2 separate regions of the Homo sapiens genome follow, and region 1 is linked to region 2. Evidence: promoter capture Hi-C in 16 types of primary human blood cells and fetal thymus (Javierre and others, 2016). All regions are on one chromosome and are shown on one strand. Each heading gives the region's core, a stretch centred on a gene start or on the middle of the fragment in contact. The rest is flanking DNA. Distances are from core to core; before and after follow the strand shown. Region 1 holds the start of COPRS (coordinator of PRMT5 and differentiation stimulator). Region 2 holds the start of EVI2A (ecotropic viral integration site 2A).

The links. The method cuts DNA at HindIII sites, captures the fragments that hold promoters and counts their contacts. A CHiCAGO score of 5 or more calls a contact.
Region 1: a contact is called between a fragment that was not itself captured here and the fragment with the promoter of EVI2A in region 2, in 1 of 17 cell types (fetal thymus). The highest score is 5.0, in fetal thymus.

What each region holds. Positions count from the first base shown.
Region 1 is chr17:31,854,034-31,860,733 of GRCh38, forward strand. It overlaps COPRS (coordinator of PRMT5 and differentiation stimulator), which reads right to left and starts at 5,211. Exons shown (of 4, transcript NM_018405.4): 1 at 5,068-5,211; 2 at 2,766-2,832. The coding sequence starts at 5,166. RefSeq lists an enhancer at 4,198-4,872 and a silencer at 4,932-5,361. The HindIII fragment of the contact is 179 bases long and covers 3,267-3,445 here.
Region 2 is chr17:31,318,783-31,325,291 of GRCh38, forward strand. EVI2A (ecotropic viral integration site 2A) reads right to left here and starts at 2,840. Exons shown (of 2, transcript NM_014210.4): 1 at 2,713-2,840; 2 at 1-241. The coding sequence starts at 231. The region is part of intron 36 of NF1 (neurofibromin 1); the gene reads left to right. The HindIII fragment of the contact is 8,918 bases long and covers 815-6,509 here.

The sequences.
Region 1 (6,700 bases), core at 2,106-4,605, 540 kb after region 2:
CCAGACTGTCTGATTTCAAATCCGTGTTTTGTCAATTACCAAACATCGGACTGGGCCGGGCACGGTAGCTCACCCTTGTAAACCTAGCACTTTGGGAGGCCAAGGTGGGTGGACTGCTTGAGCTCAGGAGTTCAAGGCCAGCCTGAACAATGTCGCAAACCCTGTCTCTACAAAAAATTCAAAAAATTTAGCTGGGTGCAGTGGCATGCACCTGTAATCCCAGCTACTCAAGAGGCTGAGGTGGGAGGATCGCTTGAACCTGGGAGGTGGAGGCTGCAGTGAGCCAAGATCGTGCCATTGCACAGAGTGAGACCCTGTCTCCAAAAAAAAAAAAAAAAAAAAAAAAAAAAGTGTGATTGAGCTGAAATTTACTTAACTAGTTCCATAACATAAATATAGAATTACCATATGACCCAGCAATCCCAGTCCTAAACATATACCCAAAAGAACTGAAAACAGCTGTTCAAATAAAACAAGGATACTCACAGCAGCACTATTTACAATCACCAAAAGGTAGACACAACATCAAATGTCCATCAATGGATGAATGGAAAAACAAAATGTGGTATATGCATATGATGGAATTATTCAGCCATAAAAAGGAATGCAGTGCTGATACATGCTACGGCATGGATGCACCTTGAAAATACGCTAAGTGGAAGAAGCCAGACACAAAAGGCCACATATTGTTATGATTCCCTTTACAGGCAACTCACATTTGCCTATCCAGAACAGATAAACCCACAGAGACAGAAAGCAAATTAGTGGTTGCCAAGAGCTCAGAGAAGGAAGGAATGGAGAATGACTACTTGGTGAGCACAGGGTTTCCTTTTAGGGTGATGAAAAGATTCTGGAACTAGGTAGTGGTGATGGTTGCACAACACTGCCATTGTGCTAAAAGGCTACTGAATTATATGCGTTAAAATGGTTACATGGTAAATTTAGGTTATGCATCTTTTACCACAATTTTTAAATTGTTTTTATTTAACTGTTCTGTGCCTCAACTTCCACATCTGTAAAATGAAGATAGGGTTGTTGTGAGAGTTAAAAGAAAAAAAAAGGCCAGGCACGGTGGCTCATGCCTGTAATCCCAGCACTTTGGGAGGCCGAGGTGGGCGGATCACCTGAGGTCAGGAGTTTGAGACCAGCCTGGCCAACATGGTGAAAGCCCCTCTCCACTAAAAATACAAAAATTAGGCCGGGAGCAGTGGCTCACGCCTGTAATCCCAGCACTTTGGGTGGCCAAGGAGGGCAGATCACGAGGTCAGGAGATCGAGACCATCCTAACAAGGTAAAATCCTATCTCTACTAAAAACACAAAAAATTAGCCAGGCGTGGTGGCGGGTGCCTGTGGTCCCAGCTACTCGGGAGGCTGAGGCAGGAGAATGGTGTGAACCCAGGGGGCAGAGTTTGCAGTGAGCCGAGATAGTGCCACTGCCTGGGAGACAGAGCGAGACTCCGTCTCAAAAAATAAATAAATAAATAAATAAATAAATACAAAAATTAGCCAGGCGATATGGTGCACGCCTGTAATCCCAGCTACTCAGGAGGCTGAGGCACGAGAATCACTTGAACCCGGGAGACAGAGGTTGCAGTGAGCCAAGATTGCGACACTGCACTCCAGCCTGGGTGACAGAGTGAGACTCCATCTCAAAAAAAAAAAAGAAAAAGAAAAAAAGGGGCCAAGCGTGGTAGCTCACACCTGTAATCCCAGCACTCTGAGAGGCTGAGGCAGATGGATCAGGTGAGGTCAGGAGTTCGAGACCAGCCTGGCTAACATGGTGAAACCCCATCTCTACTAAAAATACAAAAATTAGCTGGGCATGGTGGCATATGCCTGTAATCCAGCTACTTGGGAGGCTGAGGTAGGAGAATGCTTGAATCCAGGAGGCAGAGGTTGCAGTGAGCCAAGATTGTGCCATTGCACTCCAGCCTGGGCAACAAGAGCAAAACTCCCTCTCAAAAAAAAAAAAAAACGGCAGGGGGCTGGGCACAGTGGCTCATGCCTTTGTAATCCCAGCACTTTGGGAGCGTGGGCTCACAGTAATCCCAGCACTTTGGGAGGCCTAGGTGGGCAGATCACTTGAGATCAGGAGTTCGAGACCAGCCTGGCCAACATAGTAAAACCCCATAGCTACTAAAAATACAAAAGTTAGCTGGGTGTGGTGGCGCGTGCCTGTAGTTCCAGCTACTCGGGAGGCTGAGGCAGGAGAATTGCTTTAACCTGGGAAGCGGAGGTTGCGGTGAGCTGACATCGTGCCACTGTACTCCAGCCTGGTGACACAGCGAGACTCCGTTTCAAAAAAAAAAGATATTTTGAGAGAGAACACATTCACGTAACTTTCAGTATACTGGCATAATTGTTCTATATTACTATTGTTATTAATCACATATGCATAATTTATAAGTTAAACCATATCAGAAATAGTATATATAGGAGGAAAAAAAAGCAGTTTCAGGCATCCATTGGGGCGGGGGGGTCTTAGAATGTATCCCCTAGGAATAAGGTGAGACTGCTGTACTATTTTCACCGTTTCAAGCTGTTTCTCTCGGTAGAAGGATGGATTTGAACATAAGAAAAGTTCAGGACTTCCCTTAAGGAAGCTCCAAGCAAGGCTTCCAAAGGAGGTTACTGTTCAACTGGGCAGAGAAGGCCACTAAGCAGCAGAGAGGACTGGCTAAAAGAGAAGGTAAATGAGACAGAGGGACTATTCCTCTCCTCACATCCTTGGTCTCCCCAACTTCCGTCTCTGCCATCTACTTGCCTAGTCGATCCATAGCCTTCTCAGTCTCTCTCTCCTGACTGGAGTGGTCAGCTGTAGCAAAGCCAGCCTGCAGGAAGAAGAAATGATTACCAAGGACTTGGGTATCTGGGGTATGCCCAGTATTCAGCTATTGCATCTCAACCCCACCCACTCTTCCATACTCCCCTTGGTGATGCAGGGCTGGGACTCTGCCACCCACATTTCTACTTTGCCCTGTTAAACTGAGCAAGGCTGGAGGGAGATGGGCCTTGTTCCTTCCTATTCATGTAGGCATCACCTCATGACACTTCACCGTGGCAGCAGGAATGCCTTCCTATAGTGGCCACAGAATCCAGTATACAGTTCTGCGAACTCTTGCAGAGCCAGTCTTATCACTGCACCTTCTCTTTAGAGGTCTGGGTCTCAGGACTCTCCTCCAAGCTCAGAGACCCCCTACCATCAGCTGGGGCAGTGCCTTCTCCTTAAAGGTTGGAATTTCAGCTCTGCAGAGCCTTTTCCCTAAGCTTTTAAATTTTAATCAACTTCATCTCTTTGTTCCTTCAGCCATAGGTTGGTAGCTGTTCCCTGCGGTTGCCACCCCCAGGTACACGTTTTACCTTTTCAGTTACTTAACAACTTTATAGCTAGTAAACAACTCTATCAAATTCTCTGTTTCCTCACCAACACACTGAGGTGGGGGAAGCTTTATAATTCCTCTGCAATGCTGAGCACTGAAGGCAGTATTTCTAATCTAACTGAAAATCTTCCCGCACAGCCAACCAAATGCTTCTCTGCTCCCATCACTCAGAAGTTCCTGAAACCCTATGACCTCCAAGACCTCTTTCTAATGAATCACGAAATGTTCCCTGCCTGCATAAAAGACCTGATTTTGATCCCAGCTCTGCCATCCATTCAGAGTGTGACCTTGAACACATCACTTCAATTACTGTGCCTGAGTTTTCTTCTCCAGAAATTAGGGGTGACTGTTCTGACCCTGCAGGGGACTTATGATTAGACACCATTTATGAAAACACCTGGCATGTGGCAAGAATGTAACATTTCTTGAATTTAAATTCATCTTTTCTGCTACATCTAAACTGTACTCGGCACCTGCTCCAATCAGCATTCATTATCTAGTCATGTCTGGGTTTAATAATTCAGTTCCACTCCCTGTAGTTAGTGACAACCTCTGGTCACTGCCGCCCAAGGAGAAGTCAGACCTCTCACCTAAACCACTGCCACGGCCTCCTAACCACCTTCCCATCCAGCCATCTGGCCCAGCCTTACAGAATTAATCACTACTCTGCTCAAAACCTTCAACAGCCCTCCACTGAGAGAGCACAAAATTAGCCATGGCATTCGCACGTCCCCTCTTCTCCCACTCCCATCAACCTGTTGAGCATAGTTCTCTGCATGCTCTGAGACCCAACTCCAGGCCATGTGCCCTGCACTTTCTCATCTCCACGCCTCTGCAGACACCACCAGCCTCTCACCTTGATCCTTTCCTGCTATGCCCTGACAAAATTAGTCCCATTCTATTCTGCACTCCAAAGTAATTTTCTTTGTAAGTGTCGCTGCATTTTTCATATCTTACTTTGGCTAAGTACCATCTTTGAGGCATCATTCATCCAGTCGGTATGTCTATCTCCTGTGCCAGGCACTATGCTAGGCTGTGCAAACAGCCCTAACAGAGGGTTCCTACCTTCAAGCCGCTCAGCACCTAGCCGGTACAGACTGTAAACAAGGACAGGTAAGAACTGTAATAACGGTCTGTAACGTTCTCGGGAAAACCAGGAGCTGTCTAGCTTACATGAAAACAAGTTTCTGGAAACCCTGCGTCAAACAGGGCCTTTCTGGTTTCAGTAAGGAGAAGGGGGAGCGCGCATGTGACATCTGGGGCTCAGGGTTAGCTGGCATCCCCACCAACGGACAGAGGTCCACAGGTCTGTAAAGTCAAGTCCCTCTCCTCGCCGCCCTCACCTGGCCCTCGCCCAGGCTCCTGGCAGCGGGCCCCGGCTCTCGGTCACCAGCGTCACCTCCCATTTACCAAATCCGCAGCGGCGCCCAGCGGGCGGACAGCCGTCTCTGCTGACCCAGAGCGCCCACCCACGCCCTCGGCTTTCCCCGCCCCGCAGCCCCGCGGCCCCGCGGCCTGGCCGTTTTCAGCTCGAGCGCGAGCCCAAACAGCGCTCCGTGTCGCGGGGCGGCCCGAGGCCGGCCAGAGGCGCTTCCCCGGCCCCGCGGCCCCCGCCCAGCCCGGCCCCGCGACTTCCCGCCCCAGGCTGCGGCTGGCTGTTGCTCCTGGCCCCCACGCGGCGCTCACCTCCGGGCTGGGGGGCGCCCCCCGCGCGCTAGGCAGCGGCGGGCCCCGAGACGGCTCCGCGGCCCCCTGCGCCTGGGCCCCGGCGGCCTGAAGGTCCATGCCCTGCGGCCCGCGGCTGGTCGCCCTGGACGCCGTGGGCCACGTGACGCGCCGGCCCGGCTGCCCGCCCGAGGATCCGCCGCAGAAGCGCCAATCAGCCTGGGGAGGGGGTGGGTACCGGCCAAGAGGGCGGGGCGCGGGGGTGTCACGAGCAAGCGGGGGCGGGGCGGCGCAGGGGGCGGGGCGCGCGGCCTCGCGGAGCCCGCCCCTCCCTCCCAGCGCGAAATCTGAAACAATCTCGGAGACGGATTTTGGAAACTCCTCTCGGTGCATATCCTAAGGCTGCACGACTAGCTGCGTGTGAAACGCCAAGCGTACCCTACTCGGCCACTCGGGGTGTGCTCCAGCTTCAAAACCCCGCGTGGGTAAGACACATGAGCAACCCAGTGACCTCCACCTTGAGCTAATGATCGTCTTTGAAGTTAATCCATTAGAAACCAAGATAGATGATTAAGACACAAACTGCAATATGCAGTGGACACAGAATACAGGCCACGACGCTTACTCATAATAATCCTGAACATTCGGGATTCCTGTATTTCCATGCTCAACGCCTGATACCGACAACCTAATTATTTCCCATTTTGCCTCGAAAGGTGGCTTCTGGGGATAGGCAGGGCCTGAGCTGGGAACAGCCCAACTGGAAAGACAGCCTTCCCTGCCTTCCCCACAGTGCCTAACCTCTAATAACAAACCAGCTCAAGGTGTGCTAATCACGTCAACATCAGGACATGAGACCCTCTTCCTTCATCCCCCTCAAAGACTGTGTTGTTTGTACAACACAAAAGGCATTTGAAAAAATTTAGCATAAAACTGACACACAATATTCGATATTATTTTTGTTCTATATGTAGATGTTCCTACACAGGAGTCAGTATCCCCAAGGCTAACTGCCTCTAGGTCAGCAATGTCCAATAGAACGTTCTTTAATGGTGGAAGTGGAAATGAAAGTTCTACTATCTGTACTGTCCAATATAGTAACCATATACCTACTGAGCACTTGAAATGTGGCCAATGTGAATAAATTGAATAATTCTAATAAATTTAAATTGCTACATGTGCCTTGGAGCTACTGTTTCTAACAGTGCAACTCTAGGTGTACTAGCTAGATGTGTTTTCATAACCTGCAATATTGAGAATCAGATACAGGGATGTGATGACCCCAGGTGACCACCCTTATAGCCTTGTGTTAAGGAGACTACCACTATCCTCTTTGCTCCCTAATCTACATATCTCTTTCGTAAAATTAAAGTGCCAAATAAGATTAAGAATGTTAAACATCCCAGGACTTAAGGGACAGGAAAAAGAGGAATTTTTTTCTTATTTTAAAACAAATGACAAGAAAACAGGGGCTGGCCGCGGTGGCTCACTCCTGTAATTCCAGCACTTTGGGAGGCCGAGGCAGGCAGATCACTTGAGGTCAGTTCAAGGCTATCCTGGCCAACATGGTGAAACCCCATCTCTACTAAAAATACAAAAATTAGCCAGGCGTGGTGGCACACACCCATAATCCCAGCTACTCGGGAGGCTGAGG
Region 2 (6,509 bases), core at 1,590-4,089:
CATGTTTGTAGAATTACCTTTATAATCTACTTCAGGAGTTATAGGGTTTGTGTTAATGTTTTCATTTTGGTTTCTGCCTGTCTTGTTTTGAATAACTGAATCCCAGGAAGAAGTACTGTTAGCCCACAGACGGGTATAGTTTGCTTTTGTTCCAGGAGACAAAGAAAAAACTGTTGTCATCAGAAAGGCAAGATGTAGGTAATGTCCTGTGTGTTCCATGTCCGTGGGCATGCTTGGCAATCTGTTGGGATAGCAATATAATTTGTTAGTTTGTGAAAGAATAATGGATCCTAGTTTTGGTAATTGTAGTTAAAAGATAGTGTTGAGATGTTACAAGTAAACTACAAGCTTATGCCTAATATTCGCTACCCTGAATTCCTTCTCAACTAAATTTCTTTTCTATTCAGCTATGTATGAAGAAGCATTTTAATTTCTATTAACACTTTTAGATGCTAGAAGTTAGCATTACAAATAAATATTAATCATTTTAAGTGGACTATCATGGCTTTATATAGTTTTCTTCCTTTGAAGCGTGCTAGACTTCTGCTTTGAGTCAGTTAGTTCTGCTTTTACTTTTCTGATTCCTTCTTTAAAAAAAAAAAAAAATTAAGGATCATTCTTACAGAAACTACCCACCCTCTAACCTGTCACCAATCTTTACAGAAGAAATGTGGCCTTGAGCTTCTTGCTTCATGTATGAAATAAATGCAAATTTTTTTGGTGGAAAGAGGGGAAGTTTGGTAGCAACCAAAAGAAACTGAACTTCAAATAGAAATTCAAGGTGTTCTTTTTTTTTCTTGGGTGTTCATCTTGAAGCTTAGAATAAAGCTGGTACTTAGAAATACATTTGTAAGTGTATTTGTGAACGCAATTTTACTGTGGTGGTTGTCTCTTTTCATTTATATTTCCCTGGACTGACTGTGTCTTTCTGAAGGCAAAGGCATACCAGTTTTCTCAACCTAAAAATCTGAAGAAAAAAAAAAAAAAACAGCAAATTTCCTCTGAGTAGACTTAAAAGTTCAACAAAAGTTGCTGGGTTTTCTTTTAAAGCATCATTTATACCTAGCATTTTTTCTGATTTTGACATAATTGTAAAAAAAAATGTGTAATAAAATAGAAATAGAGCATCAGGATCTTGATGATTTGGGATGAAGTGGCAGGTTATAAGCATCTCAACAGATAATTGAAAATGTTGAATTTCCGCTTTGGCCCTGAGCTTGCTGGAAACTAGTACAAAAAGGAGACAAGTTATATTATACATTTTTTAAATCTACCAAATGATTGATTTAAATAGAAATGGCATATCTTAGAATTTAACAGTTCCATGTACTGCTAACCCAGCAGGAAAGATTTATAATCATTATTAAGGTATCTTATAATAATATACCAGTTTGTCTTGAGCTACTTTTGAAAGGAGTATTTTATTGTTAGCATTTATTTGAATGAACTAAAAGCAAAACTATATTGTTCTCCTGAGATTTACTAAATGAAATTGCCTGGTTAAGAACCCTACGTATGCTATAGAAATTCTTCTCAAATGTACTTAGGAGTCCTTTTATTTAAAAAAAAAAAAAAAAGGCAGATTCTTACCTAGCTAGTATAGGTAGGGCCTGAAAGTCTTTGTTTCCAAACCAACTCCTAAGCAACATGGATGCCACTGCTAGTCAGGCTTTTGAACATCAAGGTTTTATAAGAAATGGTTGTTATATGTCATTGGCTGACATTTGTATACTATTAAAATACAGAAATTGAAAATAAGAAATGTGATACGTTGAGTTATGCAAACAAAAGTAGCATGTAATAAACAATGCTAACTGGAGACTATATTTCATATTAATAGTAGGGAGGAAAAACTATTAAATATTCCAGGATTAAGATTACTTTTTAGATTATGACCTTTAGTAGACAATTAAAGGCCCAAGTCACTGGCTTTTGTATAATAGTGTTCAGCTTTAATTTTTAAGTTTAGTGACATAAATCTTTGGATATTTCATGATTCTTCCACAAAAAGAAATACTTGAAATTGGATTAGCAAGTAATTTCCATCTTTTTATACTAGACTGGACTTCTGTATTAGATGCTAGAATGATTTAAAGTAGATTATTCTTTTCACATTAGTTCATTAACAGTGTAGTATACATCATAGTATTGGTACACATTTTAACAGTGCTTACCACGGAACAGATAATAGGCCTGCTGTTGATTGTCTTCAGCCAGATGTACTGCAGTGCCCAAATAAACAAACTGTATGACAAAATGAGACTTTCTCTTGCCCTTACAAATGCCTGAGAATTGAGGACTGTTTTTACTCCAGTTTATGCCTTGGAGGCCAGGTTGTGTTATCAGAAGTTTTCTTATATCTGATCATTTTCAGTAGAATTTATTTTCAGTAGAATTTGTAATGTCCAAGCATTAGTAATGAGAAATTTATTTTTTAACTTTTGAAAAATAACAAAACATTTCCAGTTTACTTGAGGAAACCAAACTTAGATCCTTCGTAATCCTAATTTAAAACTCCATGGCGATGGCAAATTTTTTCATTTCTAACTTAAAATTTATGTAACAGGACAGAAAAAAAAAGTATACATTTTCAGTCACAATTCTAGTTTGTTAGTGAGATTCTTACACACTTTGATAGCATTTCCTCGAACACTAATCTGTCAGACGTTAGAAGTGAAAAGGCATAAGAAAAGCCGTATATATATGACCTACCTTACAAAATGCTTGGTCAAAATCTGATTATAACGTGATTTTGATAAACCACTTCTTTTCTTGTCTTCTTTTTAAAGCAGAATAGACTTGGAGAATATGAGCCTTAAAGTAAATCTGCAGTAAAAAAGGATATGTGCAGCTAGTTTTCCACTTTTAAAACCAAACCACAGATGACACATTTCCTTTCCACTGCAACTAAAGCACATGTCACAGGAGGGAAAAAAAAAAAAACAACGAAAAAGCTCCAACTTCTCTAGTTGGCCACTGGCATGACAGGAGGCTTTGTAGAACCAATCCCCGCCTCCAGAGCAGGGAGGGTTTTCCACTTAATGCCTTTTGACAGTATGCTCATTCTATAGGCCTGCTACATGCTTTAGTGTCATTCAAAAGAGGTTTTGAAATGGTATCTTCCATTTCAAATCTTCTCTAAAAGACTTATTTGAAATCTACAGACTGATTTGAAAATGTGAGTTTGGAGTCCATGGGATACTGATCAGATAATGTAACAATTGTGGAACTGCAGCAATTATTTGAGAAAATATCTAGTAAACTTAGATTATATGGGACAGAAAATGCTTTCGTGTGGTGTAGTGTGTGTATACACACACACACACACACACACACACACACACACAACTGTCAAACATCCTGTCATCACCTCAAGTTTAACATGACTGAAACAGACTTTAAGAACTAGGTATGGGCTGAACACGGTGGCTCACACCTGTAATCCCAGCACGTTGGGAGGGTTGACGCAGGCAGATCACTTGAGGCCAGGAGTTCAAGACCAGCCTGGCCAACATAGAGAAAACCTGTCTCTACTAAAAATATAAAAATTAACCAGGCAGGGTAGCATGCACCTGTAGTCCCACCTACTTGGGAGGCTGAGACAGGAGAATAGCTTGAACCCGGGACGTGGAGGCTGCAGAGATCATGAGATCTTGGCTGCATGAGCTAAGATCATGCCACTGCACTCCAGCCAGGAAGACAGAGTAAGACTCTGTCTCAAAAAAAAAAAAAAAAAAAAAAAAAAAAAAAAAAAGAACTGGATATGGCAGCACATATCTGTAATCCCAGCTACTAGGTAGGTTGAGGTAGGAGGATCACTGGTGGAGCCCAGGAGTTCAAATCCAGCCTGGGTAACATAGCAAGACTCCATCTCTTAAAAATTAATTAAATTAATGAAATAAAAAGAACTTTATTTTTTCTTTAAAGGAGGCTGCCTGTGACAGTCTTCTTGTTTCTGTTCATGATAGCAACATTCTAATATCAGAGGCTTAGTATACAACACATCATTTTAATTTAAGTCCTCTCAGTCCTGATCAGACTTTGAATCATGTTGGTCCTTCCTTCATATTGTTGGATCAGTTTCTTTTTCCCTGTTTTTACTGTCAACAGTACTATTTTAGATCCTTATCAGGTCATACCTAGACTCTACAGTGCCTTTTCGGTAGCCCTGAATCCTTCTTATATCTTGTATACATCACTGTCTTTGGTCATACCACCCTTTCTTTAAGGGAAAATAAAACCGGTTGAACAGTTCCCTAATACATACAACAATGATTCAGAAATGTTTGTGTACATAAACATCAGATGAGAAGATTGTTTAAAAATTATAAAAGCAGGACATGGTGGCTCACACCTGTAATCTCAGCACTTTGGGAGGCTGAGGCGGGAGGATTACTTGAGCCACAGAAATTCGAGACCAGCCTGGGCAGCATGGCAAAATCCTGTCTCTACAAAAAATACAAAAAAACAAAAACAAAAAACTAGCCGGGCATGGTGGCGCTTATCTGTAGTCCCAGCTACTCAGGAGGCTGAGGTGGGAGGATCACCTGAGCCTGGGGAGGTCAAGGCTACAGTGAGCTGTGACCGTGCCACTGCAGTCCAGCCTGAGTTAAGGGAAAAAAAAAAAAGATAAAAATTTCCAGGCCCCACTACATAGATCCATATTTAGTAGGTCCAGGTTGGGACCAGGAAACTGCATTTTTATCAAGCACCACAGTTGATTCTGACGCCAGTAGTCCACAGAACATATGCTGAGAAATGGTGAGCCCCTAGTAGAAAACCTAAGCCCTTTGGTTGGGCAGTTATGGTCTCTCCACAATTTGACTATTCTGTATTTTCCCAGCTTTATCTCTCAAAACTTCTCTACCTGAATCCTCCATTCTGGCTAGACTAGCTGTCTCTTCAACACATCTAGTTACCTGTTTCTTTTCCTTTTTGCCTTTCTCCATAAGGCCTGCCCAGTCCTCTTGCTGAGTCTGCATTCCTCCTTACCTGATTCAGCCACTGTATCTTCTATGTAGCTTTCACTGACTGCCCAGTTTGTGTTAATCTCTCTCTCTCTCTCCTTTGTCTTAATAACAGTATTTTCTCTGCATTTCCTTTGATAAGTGATTACTTTCTACCTCATATCTTCTATCTTGAAATATTTGTGTTGTTTTAAAATCATTTGACTTGTCATATTTTTATCTTATTTTCTCCCAACAAGATTAAAAATTCTGAGGTGAAGTTTTTTATTGATACATGATAATTTGTACATATTAATGGAGTATGTGTGATTTTTTTGGTTTTTTTTGTTTTTGTTTTTGTTGGAATCTCGCTCTATCGCCCAGGCTGGAGTGCAGTGGCACAATCTCAGCTCACTGCAAACTCCCCTCCCAGGTTCAAGCAATTCTCCTGCCTCAGCCTCCCAAGTAGCTGGGGCTACAGGCACGTGCCACCACGCCCAGCTAATTTTTGTATTTTTAGTAGAGACAGGGTTTCACCCTGTTGGCCAGGCTAGTCTTGACCTCCTGACCTCAGGTGATCTGCCCGTCTTGGCCTCCCAAAGTGCTGGGATTGCAGGCGTGAGCCACCATGCCCTGCCTGTATGTGTGATATTTTGATACATGCATATAATGTGTAATGATTAAATCAGGGTGATTAGGATATCCATTGCCTCAAAGAAAAGAAATTGTTTCGTCTAGCTGTTTTGAAATATACAATGTTATTATTAACTAGTCACCTTACTATGAATAGTAGAACTTGTTCCTTCTATCTAATTCTAACAATACATATATTATTTATTTTATTATTATTTTTTTAAGACAGTCTCACTGTTGCCCAGGCTGAAGTGCAGTGGTACAATCTCAGCTCGCTGCAGCCTCTGCCTCCCAGGTCCAAGTGATTCTCGTGCCTCAGCCTCCCAAGTAGCTGGGATTACAGACATGTACCACCATGCCTGGCTGATTTTTGTATTTTTAGTAGAGACAGCGTTTTGCCATGTTGGCCAGGCTGGTCTCGAACTCCTGGCCTTATGTAACCCACCTGCCTCAGCCTCCCAGAGTGCTGGGAATACAGGCGTGAGCCACTGTGCCCAGCCCTGATTATATTTTTATATCCATTAACCAACCTCTGAGGTAAAGATTTATTTTAACTTACTTAGTAGTATTATCACCAGAATCATCACATATGGAAAACTTTGGGCCTAAGTTAACATAGATTGTTTTGATTTGAAACTTTGGTACCATTACTTCAGGGCTTTTTCATGGTCCTCACTGTGGCTGCTCCCATTTATTAGTATTCTTTTGGTTTTAAGCAACATATGACCTAATATGGCTTAATCAAAAAATGGTATTTATTGGCTTATGTAACTGAGCAGTCCTGGGATAAATTTGACCCCAGGAGAGGCTTTATCTCATACACAAATGATATGGCCAGGGTTCCAGTTTGTCTATTTCTCAGCTCCTTCTCTTCAGTCTTTTGGGAGGCTCTTCTTTTATATCCCAAAATATGAGCTAGCAACTCCTAGG